3 separate regions of the Homo sapiens genome follow, and regions 1 and 3 are each linked to region 2. Evidence: promoter capture Hi-C in 16 types of primary human blood cells and fetal thymus (Javierre and others, 2016). All regions are on one chromosome and are shown on one strand. The core of a region is centred on a gene start or on the middle of the fragment in contact, and the rest is flanking DNA. Distances in the headings are between cores, read along the strand shown.

The links. Contacts are between HindIII fragments. The CHiCAGO score rates a contact against its expected background, and 5 or more counts as called.
Region 1: a contact is called between the fragment with the promoter of HNRNPA2B1 here and a fragment that was not itself captured in region 2, in 1 of 17 cell types (non-activated CD4 T cells). The highest score is 5.9, in non-activated CD4 T cells.
Region 3: the fragment with the promoter of CDK13 here is called in contact with a fragment that was not itself captured in region 2 in 1 of 17 cell types (fetal thymus); the score reaches 7.7 in fetal thymus.

The regions. Positions count from the first base shown.
Region 1 is chr7:26,198,434-26,201,995 of GRCh38, forward strand. It overlaps HNRNPA2B1 (heterogeneous nuclear ribonucleoprotein A2/B1), which reads right to left and starts at 2,313. Exons shown (of 11, transcript NM_002137.4): 1 at 2,139-2,313. The coding sequence starts at 2,144. It overlaps CBX3 (chromobox 3), which reads left to right and starts at 3,312. Exons shown (of 6, transcript NM_016587.4): 1 at 3,312-3,393. RefSeq lists enhancers at 755-1,728, 1,637-1,756, 1,729-2,701, 1,867-2,256 and a silencer at 3,197-3,562. The HindIII fragment of the contact is 8,290 bases long and covers 133-3,562 here.
Region 2 is chr7:32,887,012-32,890,655 of GRCh38, forward strand. All of the region lies in intron 1 of KBTBD2 (kelch repeat and BTB domain containing 2), which reads right to left. Among named protein-coding and RNA genes, the nearest start is that of KBTBD2, 2.9 kb to the right of the region's middle. RefSeq lists an enhancer at 1,749-2,274. The HindIII fragment of the contact is 2,297 bases long and covers 976-3,272 here.
Region 3 is chr7:39,947,565-39,951,505 of GRCh38, forward strand. CDK13 (cyclin dependent kinase 13) reads left to right here and starts at 2,692. Exons shown (of 14, transcript NM_003718.5): 1 at 2,692-3,941. The coding sequence starts at 3,078. It overlaps CDK13-DT (CDK13 divergent transcript), which reads right to left and starts at 1,855. Exons shown (of 1, transcript NR_158201.1): 1 at 1-1,855. RefSeq lists enhancers at 1,141-2,060, 1,560-1,689, 1,760-2,009, 2,061-2,979, 2,480-2,759 and 3 more and silencers at 2,250-2,479, 3,270-3,559, 3,630-3,689. The HindIII fragment of the contact is 3,453 bases long and covers 1,391-3,941 here.

The DNA of each region.
Region 1 (3,562 bases), core at 1,063-3,562, 6.7 Mb before region 2:
GTTTAATTTTTGGTGGACATGTCTATATTTGATATATGACAATACAGAATATGAATTACTCAGCTTAACCATATGTACAATAAAATACATTCACGTGGCATAATCTCTAAGATAACAATTACTGAAAGCTGAAGCTTACTTGATTGGCCATGTGGCAAGCGACAGGCACAAAACAATTTTCCAAGTCAATAGGAAAAACCTCAGAGCTGAAATCTTTATATGCTGTACTACACAGCTGTATTCTGGGCACTTATGAATGTTAAGGAAACCTGTCTTAAAAGTTAACTAGGTTAAAAAACCTCAAACGAGAGAAAGTGATATCCAGGACCAACTGCTACAAACGCATAATGCAAACTAAAAAGTCACACGTAATTTTCAATCAATTATTTTTTGTTCCTAGCAAGCAGCATTAATTGCTGCTCTCATCCCAGTTCTACGGAGCTCTCCCTCCATTCGCATGCTCCCAACTCCTAAAAAGTAGTGGTAAAACCCAGTTCAGATTTTTTTCCTGTAGTTTTCATGACTCGTAAAAATTAAAGAAAAAATTAACTGAAATGATCAAACTAGCTCCTATGAGACACAAAGCAGTCTTTTGAAATGGTTACTTGTCACGATAGTTATTTTCATTTTTTCAGCTAGTTTTTATTCTTAATTGTCGTCAGCACATAGGTTATCTCTAAACTGAAATTACGGATAATGTACATTTATAACAAGTTTTACAAATCACTAACAAAAAGCAAAAACTCATTACTTACCTCACAATTTATCCAAACTTACCCGATGTCCACTATCGATTTTAAACAATGTTATTTTATAAACGTGCTTAGGGTCAAAGAAAATAACCAGGTAGACCCCCTTCGCTTGAGACCTTATGCTTATCAATGTAATGTTCAACCAAGATTGCAAACAAAATGAGAAAAGTAACAAAGTTCAAATACAGAGCGGCCCAGGCCCAAAACAGTTTTGCACATCAATCCATACGCATTACAGGAAGGAGCCTCTGAAGCCATGTTTTAATCGAAGTATAACTAAGGACAAAATCGTTATTTCACTTTCCTCGTAATCATCTATAAAGGTCCATGGATCTGTCCCGTAAGGGTTAAACTTCTCAGTAACAACATTACTTAAAATGAGTCAGCTCTACAACTTAAACGGAATCCTTAAGAACAGTAAAGGATTCTGACGCGAATATCCCTCCCCCGCCCAGAAAACCACCTTCGTCCCTGCCCCTCGTGGCCGATGGCTTCCAATTTATGTTTATTTTGCCGCGGTTCATCTGTCGTTTTACTGACTGCAGACCCAGATAAAACCGTTACTCAAAGGAAAAAAAAGACAGGAAAAACATAAAATGGTTTCTTTGTCCTACGGCTCGCATTGAACCCGGCCCGACGCCCTGGGTGGTGATATCTTCTCTGAAACCGGGCCCGCAAACCCGGAGCACCCCCCCTCCCCGCTCTTCGGTGTGGCTTCCGAACGCAATGGCGCCATTTCATCGAGGGGAAGGCTGAGCGCCTTTAATGAGGTGCGCAGGACTCTAAAGATCCAAGCTCACAAAACACTCCAAATCCACCTCGAAACGATATGAAAACAGCCCGAGAAGAAAAAAAAATAGTTAACCACTTCTACTTCTTGATAGAGAAAGCACACTAAGAAAATAAAAGAGTTATAAGGAAAACGCTGAGAGGAAGGCGAGCCATGAAAATGGCGGCCGCCAAATCCGGTTCCCGGGAGAGAGGGGGAGGGGAAGCTCCGCAGCCTCGCTCACGAGGACCTGCTGCCCGCCGAAACGCTCGCCGAGGAGACGCCGTGGCCCCCGAAGCAGCGTGCTTTAGAAAGGGAATAAGAATTCCCGCCTCCGCGCCCCACTTTCACCCCAGCGGGGCAGCGTCCGCCATGTGAAAGCTCCCCATCCCCCACCCCCAGTGAAGGGAAATGGCGCCGGGAGGCTGAGGGTGGGGAAGCTGTTTGTACGCTCAGGCCTCCGCTCAAGACCCCGTTCATAAACCTTAAGCCCCACTGCTACTGAATTGGTCCGATTTCCTGCCTCTCTCCCACGGAGGCGGCTGGCCGACTTCCACTGAGGCGCCAACGGCCTCGCCATGCCCTTTTCAATAACTCATTGATTTCAAACCCGTTACCTCCATCGCGGACTCAGTCGCTTCAGCCCGATTTCCCGCAGCCGAGCGAGATGAGAGAGATCTCCGCGGACGAACACGAACCGGACTCGTCCTGGCGCTGTAGTGAGAACTGCCGCTGCTCGAGAAACAACTCTGCGAGGAGCACCTCCGCACGGGACCCGGCGCTGCTGCTACTGCCGCTAGAGCCGCTGCCGCCGCTTTTCTAGAACCTTCCCCCCCACTAACGCGTCTTCCGCTACGTCAGGCCGTCGCGTAAACGCCCTATCCGCCGCCAATGGCGGGAAGGCTCTACGCCCCACCTTACGCCAAATGCGTACTCCTCCCACCCTTGCGGCCAGAGACAGTACCCGACGTTACTTCCGTAAATGCGCTCAATGAATTGCGGAAGGCTAGAGTCCTGCTAGTTACTACCTCTTGGAATAGGGTCCCGCCCCCTGCCTTGGCGCAAGGCAGGTGAGAAACGGTCGCGCAGTTTGAAATTAACGCCGACGGGAGGGGCTTAATCCGCAGCCTGGAGATCCAGCCCCCTCAACCCGGGAGGTGGTCCCTGCAGTTACGCCAATGATAACCCCCGCCAGAAAAATCTTAGTAGCCTTCCCTTTTTGTTTTCCGTGCCCCAACTCGGCGGATTGACTCGGCCCCTTCCGGAAACACCCGAATCAACTTCTAGTCAAATTATTGTTCACGCCGCAATGACCCACCCCTGGCCCGCGTCTGTGGAACTGACCCCTGGTGTACAGGAGAGTTCGCTGCTGAAAGTGGTCCCAAAGGGGTACTAGTTTTTAAGCTCCCAACTCCCCCTCCCCCAGCGTCTGGAGGATTCCACACCCTCGCACCGCAGGGGCGAGGAAGTGGGCGGAGTCCGGTTTTGGCGCCAGCCGCTGAGGCTGCCAAGCAGAAAAGCCACCGCTGAGGAGACTCCGGTCACTGTCCTCGCCCCGCCTCCCCCTTCCCTCCCCTTGGGGACCACCGGGCGCCACGCCGCGAACGGTAAGTGCCGCGGTCGTCGGCGCCTCCGCCCTCCCCCTAGGGCCCCAATTCCCAGCGGGCGCGGCGCGCGGCCCCTCCCCCCGCCGGGCGCGCGCCCGCTGCCCCGCCCTTCGTGGCCGCCCGGCGTGGGCGGTGCCACCCCTCCCCCCGGCGGCCCCGCGCGCAGCTCCCGGCTCCCTCCCCCTTCGGATGTGGCTTGAGCTGTAGGCGCGGAGGGCCGGAGACGCTGCAGACCCGCGACCCGGAGCAGCTCGGAGGCGGTGAAGTCGGTGGCTTTCCTTCTCTCTAGCTCTCGCTCGCTGGTGGTGCTTCAGATGCCACACGCGTCCCGGGGGCCCGGTTCTCCGCTCCCCTCCCCTCCCCTTCTCGCCGGACCCCGCGCCGGGAGCTGCGGGAAGGAGTGGAGGGTCGGGCGGTGGCCTCGCGGCTGGCCT
Region 2 (3,644 bases), core at 874-3,373:
GTTTTCATTCCTAGAGGTGTGTACTTTGTAGCATCCTCCCACTGAGTAGCCTGGAAACACAAATAGAAGCAAAGCAAGCTTTTCCAATGTTAACCAGGCAGAATATAGAGACTGAGGAACGAATAAAGGATTAAAGAACTATTGAATGTGATAAAGAAACCAATCAGCAATTAACTGAGCTGTGGATGAAAAAGGAAGAAAGGATAAAAAGATGGGAAGGAGGCTGCTAGCAAGGCCTGCTACAATAAGCACAGTAGTAGGTACAAAGTTTCCATTGGACAGGAGGAATAAGTGTTACTGATCTGTTACACAGCATGTTGATGATCGCAGTTAACAATAATATACTGTGTATTTCAAAACTGCTAAAGATTCTAAATGTTCTCACCACAAAAAAAATAAGTACATGAGGTGACAGATGTAAATAGCCTGATTTAATCATTCCTCAATGTGTACATAGATTGAAACATCACATTGTAGCCCACAAATACATACAATTATTTGCCAACTAAAAATAAAATAAATTATATAGTAGGAATGAAGGAATGATAGGTCTCCCTCCAGGAGGGGCAGTGCGGCTATAAATCATTCACCTGTAGGAAGCACATTCAAATTGTACATTACTAACTTAGGGAGTGCTGCATCTCCCAATGCTACAAATGTCAATAGAGAAGATTAAAAATTTTTGTTGGAAAAGATCCAAGGCGTTCTCCATGGAGGTCAACCGTTGAAAAATAATTGAGTACAAACCCAAACTACTTGGGTTAAAGCCCCAGTTCTGCAACTTAATAGCTGTGTGGCCCTTTTTAAGTTATTTATTCTCTATGCCTCAGTTTGCTCATCTATAAAATGTAGTTAAAAGTACAACTCTCTTCTCAATGAATTGTTCTAGGATTACATTTCATACTTGGTTCAGTACCTGACACACAGCACTACACAGATATTCGAAATTATTTTTATTAACCCACCCACTGGTGAAGCTTTTGCAGCACTTTCCCAACTCCTGGATTCCACACCTTCACCAGGTCCGAAGATTCCAATTTCAAGGTCTCAGCACTCCAAATACAGTTCTCTTTTTTCATTCTGTCTAAATGGTATTTTACATAAGAGAAATCCAATGTTTTCAGAGAATATTGGGACTTTTTTGCAAACATTTGACACTTGAAATCTGAATTCAGTGTTCTAAAATATTAAGATAATTTTTCCTTTTTTTTTCCTTTTCTCACATATTTTGATGGTACAAATAATGAAACAAACTAGTGCTTAAAAGACGACCAATCTTGAGGAGGCTGATGTCAGTGTAAAAAACTAAATGAGAGTCCAGAAAGGCACCAGTCATAAAACAAGCCTTTCTTTATTTCAATGAGATAGTTTTCTCCTTAGGAAGGACAAGAGATGGGTGCTAGAAACAGTTTGCTTTCAAGTTATCAAAACAACCACGACAGTTGAGAATGTCTGGAAAAGACCATTTGTTTTTTAGATTGTCAACTGCTACACAAACAGAATTTTCTGGAGTTGTGACAGGCATCAATTAAAAAACAAACCAAAAAAAAACAAAAAAACCAAAAAAACAAACACCTGGCCTTTTGAAGAATCTATCAAGTTTTAAAAATTTCAGCATACTTGCAGTGAGCCGAGATCGCATCACTGCACTCCAGCCTGGGCGACACAGCGAGACTCCGTCCCAAAAAAAAAAAAAAAAAAATTTCAGCATAGCTTCCTCTGCTCTAGTCACATTCAGAGCTTAGGTCTGTTCTCTCTTTCCAACCATACTGATAGATGACATGGCTCCATCAGGTTAATTACGCTCAGCACCCTAAGTAAATTCAGGTCACAAGTACAAGCTGTACTATATTATGATTAACAAGTTATCTCAGTTTTAAAAAATTAAACAAGAACATAAAGGCAATGCCACCTGCGATACAATAATCATATGAGTATACTATGTCCTTTTATTTTGGGTATCACTTTTCCTTTTTCCTCTCACCTCTGCGCAGTGACTTAAGAAAGCTGGGGAAAAGTGGCCAGGCGCAATGGCTCACACCAGTAAATCCCAGCACTTTGGGAGGCCGAGGCGGGCAGATCACCAGGTCAGGAGATCGAGACCATCCTGGCTAACACGGTGAAACCCCATCTCTACTAAAAATACAAAAATTAGCCCAGCGTGGGCTACTCAGGAAGCTGAGGCAGGAGAATGGCGTGAACCCGGGAGGCGGAGCTTGCAGTGAGCCAAGATCGCGCCACCGCACTCCAGCCTGGGCGACACAGCGAGACTCCGTCTCTTAAAAAAAAAAAAAAAATTACTTGAGATCGGCCGTCTGCGGTAGCTCACGCCTGTAATCCCAGCACTTTGGAAGGCCGAGGTGAGGGGATCACGAGGTCAGGAGCTCGAGACCAGCCTGACCAACATGGTGAACCCTCATCTCTACTAAAAATACAAAAATTAGCCAGGCCTGGTGGGGCGCGCCTGTAATCCCAGCTACTCAGGAGGCTGAAGCAGGAGAATCACTTGAACCCTGAAGGCGGAGGTTGCAGTGAGCCGAGATCGTGACACTGCACACCAGCCTGAGTGACAAGAGACTCTGTCTCAAAAAAAAATTACTTGAGATCAACCTGTCATTTCTAATACTGAGTTATTTAAGTATCAGTTGGTCTATTCAAACTCTACAAAACTGAAAAGATTAAGCTAACAAAGGACTTTGAAATTTTCACTCATATTTTATGACACCAGGATCAATCCTTTTTCCTGGCCTTACTTGTCTTAGGAATGTGGGCAAAGAGAAGAGGGGAAGGGGGACTCTTTTCTAAATGTGTAACATTTTTGGAAAAACCAATGTTATCATTTGGCTTTTAAGACTGCATTCAAGTTTCTAGGAATTCACCTTGCACATTCAATGTTCAATGTTTAGGAATGAAAAGCTCAACATTTCTACCAACCAGAAGAAAATCTATGGAGGAGCATGGACATATGTACTGATACCTCTATTCCTTCCCATCTCCTTACATGCCCTGTGAATAACATAAGTTAACATTTTATAATGCTTCTTATGAGAGCAAAAAGGGGAGTAGAGTTACAGCACTCATAAAGTCTTCCTACAAAACTGTGCAAAGAAAACACCACTATGTGGAAACGTGTGGACTACAGAGCATGCTCAACAGAAAGGCCACAGCACTCCCGAGTTACTGACAGAAAACAACCTCTTGAGGATTCCAGGCCCCAACCTAAAAGGGCTTCAATAAGCACTAAGCCAACAGAAGATCAAAGTGAAGAAGTAAGCTTAACATTAGTTATCAGCCAGATGGAAAGAATAGCAAAATTCCACATCATCGAGATTAGAAAACAACCGACTGGCTTTTCAATTTACTTTAGATCAGAAAAAAAAGTCGGGGAAAAAAGTCCTTATCAAAGGTTAACCAAACTAAGTCATTCACAATTACAAGAGATCTAAGACCCATACTACTCAAATTCGGCAAAAATGTACAACTCAGAGGGAAGAGGGGGAAGATCCCTGTTAATTAGTTGCCTCGATAAAAGAAAATATCATTTTGGTCAGTGCACAGCGTTGATAGGGTTTCGTTTCTCAATGCCTAAATGCTGTGAGCCCGACGTACAGATTCAAGTATAAACAACACGTGACCAGTCCTGT
Region 3 (3,941 bases), core at 1,442-3,941, 7.1 Mb after region 2:
TATAGAAACAGACGGCTTCTAATTCAAAGGTCCTTCCCATTTTTTGGAGTTTGAATCCTATTAGTTATTAGTGTTTCCAACCACGTGGGCAGGTATCTTGAGCTCAAAATGTTCATTCAACCTCCCCCACCAAAGGTAGAATCTTTGAGGAAACGTGGGTGGTAGAACCACAGTAAAAATATTTTAGTACATGTTTTTTGTTTGCACCCTGGATTGGGAACTATCCATTTACTTTTTTTCCCTTCTTCTCCATTTAATACACTTACACATGGGAATTATCCATTTACTATGGATCAAGTTTTCTTTGAAAATATATGATAGAAGATGACATTCTCAAGTGGAACTGGTTGTACACGAGGGGAGCTGCAAGCTAAACCTCTTATTTGCTCTCTTTGTTCTGTTATTCCAGTCTATCTAACGTAGGACGATGGAACAAGTTGATCCTACATGTTTCTGAAAAAGCCACTTGCTAAACAGTCTTTGGTAGGAGGCTGGCTACAGGACCTTCACTCAACAATACTGTCAACCAGAAATTTGTTTTAGGAACCCTGCCCCCTATTTTTCTATTCAGTTTCCCAATGCCCATCCCATGGTGTTGCCCACCCAGGCCTGCCCTCCTGGGAAATGCTCTGACTTTAAGATTACCTATTCCTTTGCCTCCTCCTTTATCCTTCAGCAAACCAACATCCTTTGTACTCGGTCAGTGAAGTCTGATCTTAGCTTAAATCAGGCCAGTCTGTGATACTGTGATGTCAAACTGATTAAAATAATTTACACTAAGGTATTAACGATGGATAGATACCAAGTGTTTAAGAACTAAACCAACTGATGATCTGAACAAATGAATTTTCAAAGGGGTTACTACATTTAGTCATTGAACAGACGGCTTAGCTTTTTCTTTTATTAGAGGCAGGGCCTCGCCCTGCTGATTGGCCAGGCTGGGGTGCTGTGGCACGGTCATGGCTCACTCCAGCCTCGAACTCTTGAGCTCCAGAGATCCTCCTGCCTCAGCCTCCGGAGTAGCTGGGACTACAGGCGTGTGCCACTGCACAGGGTTAGCTTGCGTTTCCAACCATTCTAAAAGCCAATAAGCCATTTACATTTTAATCTAATTATCCCGAGTGCTTAGTCTGTAACTGAAGGGCAATTCTAAGGCAAGAAATGAGATGTGAGGTCACTATATGGCTATGTTTGGCAACCCCAAAGGTTTAGATATGAAGGTGAAAGTGGGTGAAGTACTAAGAGGGCAGTCCTCATTCGCACAAGATGTTTTTATTTCAAGCCTCCTGAGAATTTGGAATTTTCAGTAGTTCCTTTTAACATTCCACTTATTTCCTGTATTGATTTAAAGCTTTAAAAATTTTTATTTTAAAGTAAATAGTGTTACCGAAGCTTGAGCTGTGATTCCCAAGTGTGTTTTTTAGGATAAGAAGGGGCCTCGCGGAAGTTGCGGTGAGCCGAGATCGCACCATTGCACTCCAGCCTGGGCAACGAGAGCGAAACTCAGTCTCAAAAAAAAAAAAAAAAAAAATGGGGCCTCGAACTTTGGCGTACGTGAGACAAGTTAAACCAACGCCATCTCCACCCTGTTTTGCGGGGTGTTTTCTCTCCTTTCGCAGCTGTTCCACTCCCAGGGCTTGACTGAAGGTACACGGGGGGTAACTGCCTACTCCAGAAGGCCACCAACAGCATTATTTCCCTCGCAGTCTCCAGAAACACTTGTTCTCACTGTGACCTTTCGCTCAACAGGCAGGCAGTGCGGCGTCTGCAGAGCCGGAACCGGCACTGCGCGCTGGACGCAAGCAACAAGCACGACAGGCGCGCCACCACGGGCAGAGTCTCAAGCAACAGCAGTGGGCGGCACACGAATCCTCTCCTTTCTTTAACCCTTCTTCACACGGAGTCCCACCCTCGCCGGAAGCCGAGCGGTTTCTACATCATGCCACTTCCGGTGCGGCCTGCCGGCCCCTGGCGGGAGCGAGCACGCCAGTGCGCGGTAACTTTGTTCCCGCCTCTCTTGCCCCGGCCACCTCTCATCTTCGGCTTTCTCTGAGCGTGAATTGCGGGCGCGCTCCCGGTCGTACGTCAGGGCTGAGGGGAAAAGCCGAAAGAGCGAGGCGAGAAGGAGGGGTTGTGGAGGTTAGGGCCCAACCAGCAAGTCCCGTTGCTCTCCCTCCTCCTGACGAGGAGCGGAGAGGGAAGGGGAGGAGCGAGCCGGGGCAGGCCGCGCACACCAGGAGCCTCCTCGTGGAGGGGGGGAGCGGAGGAAAGGGGTAGCTCCGCCACCTCTGCTGGCGGCGGCGGCGGCGGCGAAAGAAGAAGAAAGTCAGGGCCCGTACCTACCGCCACAGACTCAGAAACGCCCCTGCCCCCATCTCCCCGGAAATAGCCCCCCGCCCAGCCCCGCACAGTCGCTGCCCCAACCGAGAGCCGCAGCCCGGTCGCCCCCGCCTCGCCCCGCCCCGCTGCCCAGCCCCGCGGGCCGCAGAGTGCGCGAGGCCCTAGGCCGGGAGTTGTTGTCAGGCCCAGGCCACTTCCGAGGCGCCTGCGGTGTGTCGCCGCCACCACAGGAGGACGACGTCGACGCCGAGGAGGAGGCGGTGGAGGCGTGTTGTTGTCTCGCCCACTCCCCTCCCCTGAACTTGCACCCAACGTCAGGGCGCGATGGAGTGAAGCGGCGACGAAGGTGGTACTTCCGCGTTGCGCTGCCCGAGCCGAGAGCGCGGCCAAGGCCGCTCCCCCACCCCCGGGGGCACTTGGAGGACTCGGGACTCCCCCGCAGGTCAGCGCCCGGCGCATCTGGTGTTTTCGCTGCCGAGGATAGGACGACGAGCGCAATCGGGAGCTCCGCCGCCCGGATTCCTGCTTCCCTGGGGCCCGGAGGCTGCTGCGTACCCCACTGTGACCTGGAACCCAGGGACCCGAGTCCCGACCCGGATTATCGTGGCGCTTTTCCCGGCCGGCTCTGGTGCTCGGTGTCCCTCCGCCGCCGCTCCCGTTTCCGGCGGGGGAGATGGCCAGGATCTGACCCGGGAGGAGGCCGCACCCGCGCCGCGCTCTGCGGCTGGCTCTAGGCGATGCCGAGCAGCTCGGACACGGCGCTGGGGGGAGGCGGGGGCCTGAGCTGGGCGGAGAAGAAGTTGGAGGAACGCCGCAAGCGGAGGCGATTCCTGTCCCCTCAGCAGCCGCCGCTGCTGTTGCCGCTCCTGCAGCCGCAGCTCCTGCAACCGCCGCCGCCCCCGCCGCCTCTGCTCTTCCTGGCTGCTCCCGGCACGGCCGCCGCCGCAGCCGCCGCCGCCGCGGCCTCCTCCTCTTGCTTCAGCCCGGGCCCCCCTCTGGAGGTCAAGCGGCTGGCGAGAGGCAAGAGGCGCGCAGGAGGGCGGCAGAAGCGGCGTCGCGGGCCCCGCGCCGGGCAGGAGGCGGAGAAGCGTCGGGTCTTCTCGCTGCCCCAGCCGCAGCAGGACGGCGGTGGCGGTGCTAGTAGCGGCGGGGGTGTGACCCCGCTGGTGGAATACGAGGATGTGAGCTCCCAGTCCGAGCAGGGGCTGCTGCTGGGGGGGGCCAGCGCGGCAACGGCGGCGACGGCTGCCGGGGGAACGGGGGGCAGCGGCGGGAGTCCGGCCTCCTCCTCCGGCACCCAGCGGCGCGGGGAGGGGTCGGAGCGCAGGCCCCGCCGGGACCGCCGCAGCAGCAGTGGCCGCAGCAAGGAGCGCCACCGCGAGCACCGGCGGCGGGATGGGCAGCGCGGTGGCAGCGAGGCCTCCAAGTCCCGCAGCCGCCACAGCCACAGCGGCGAGGAACGGGCCGAGGTCGCCAAGAGCGGCAGCAGCAGCAGCAGCGGCGGCCGCCGGAAAAGCGCTTCGGCCACATCCAGCAGCAGTAGCAGCCGCAAGGACCGGGACTCGAAGGCCCACCGCAGCCGGACTAAGTCGTCCAAGGAG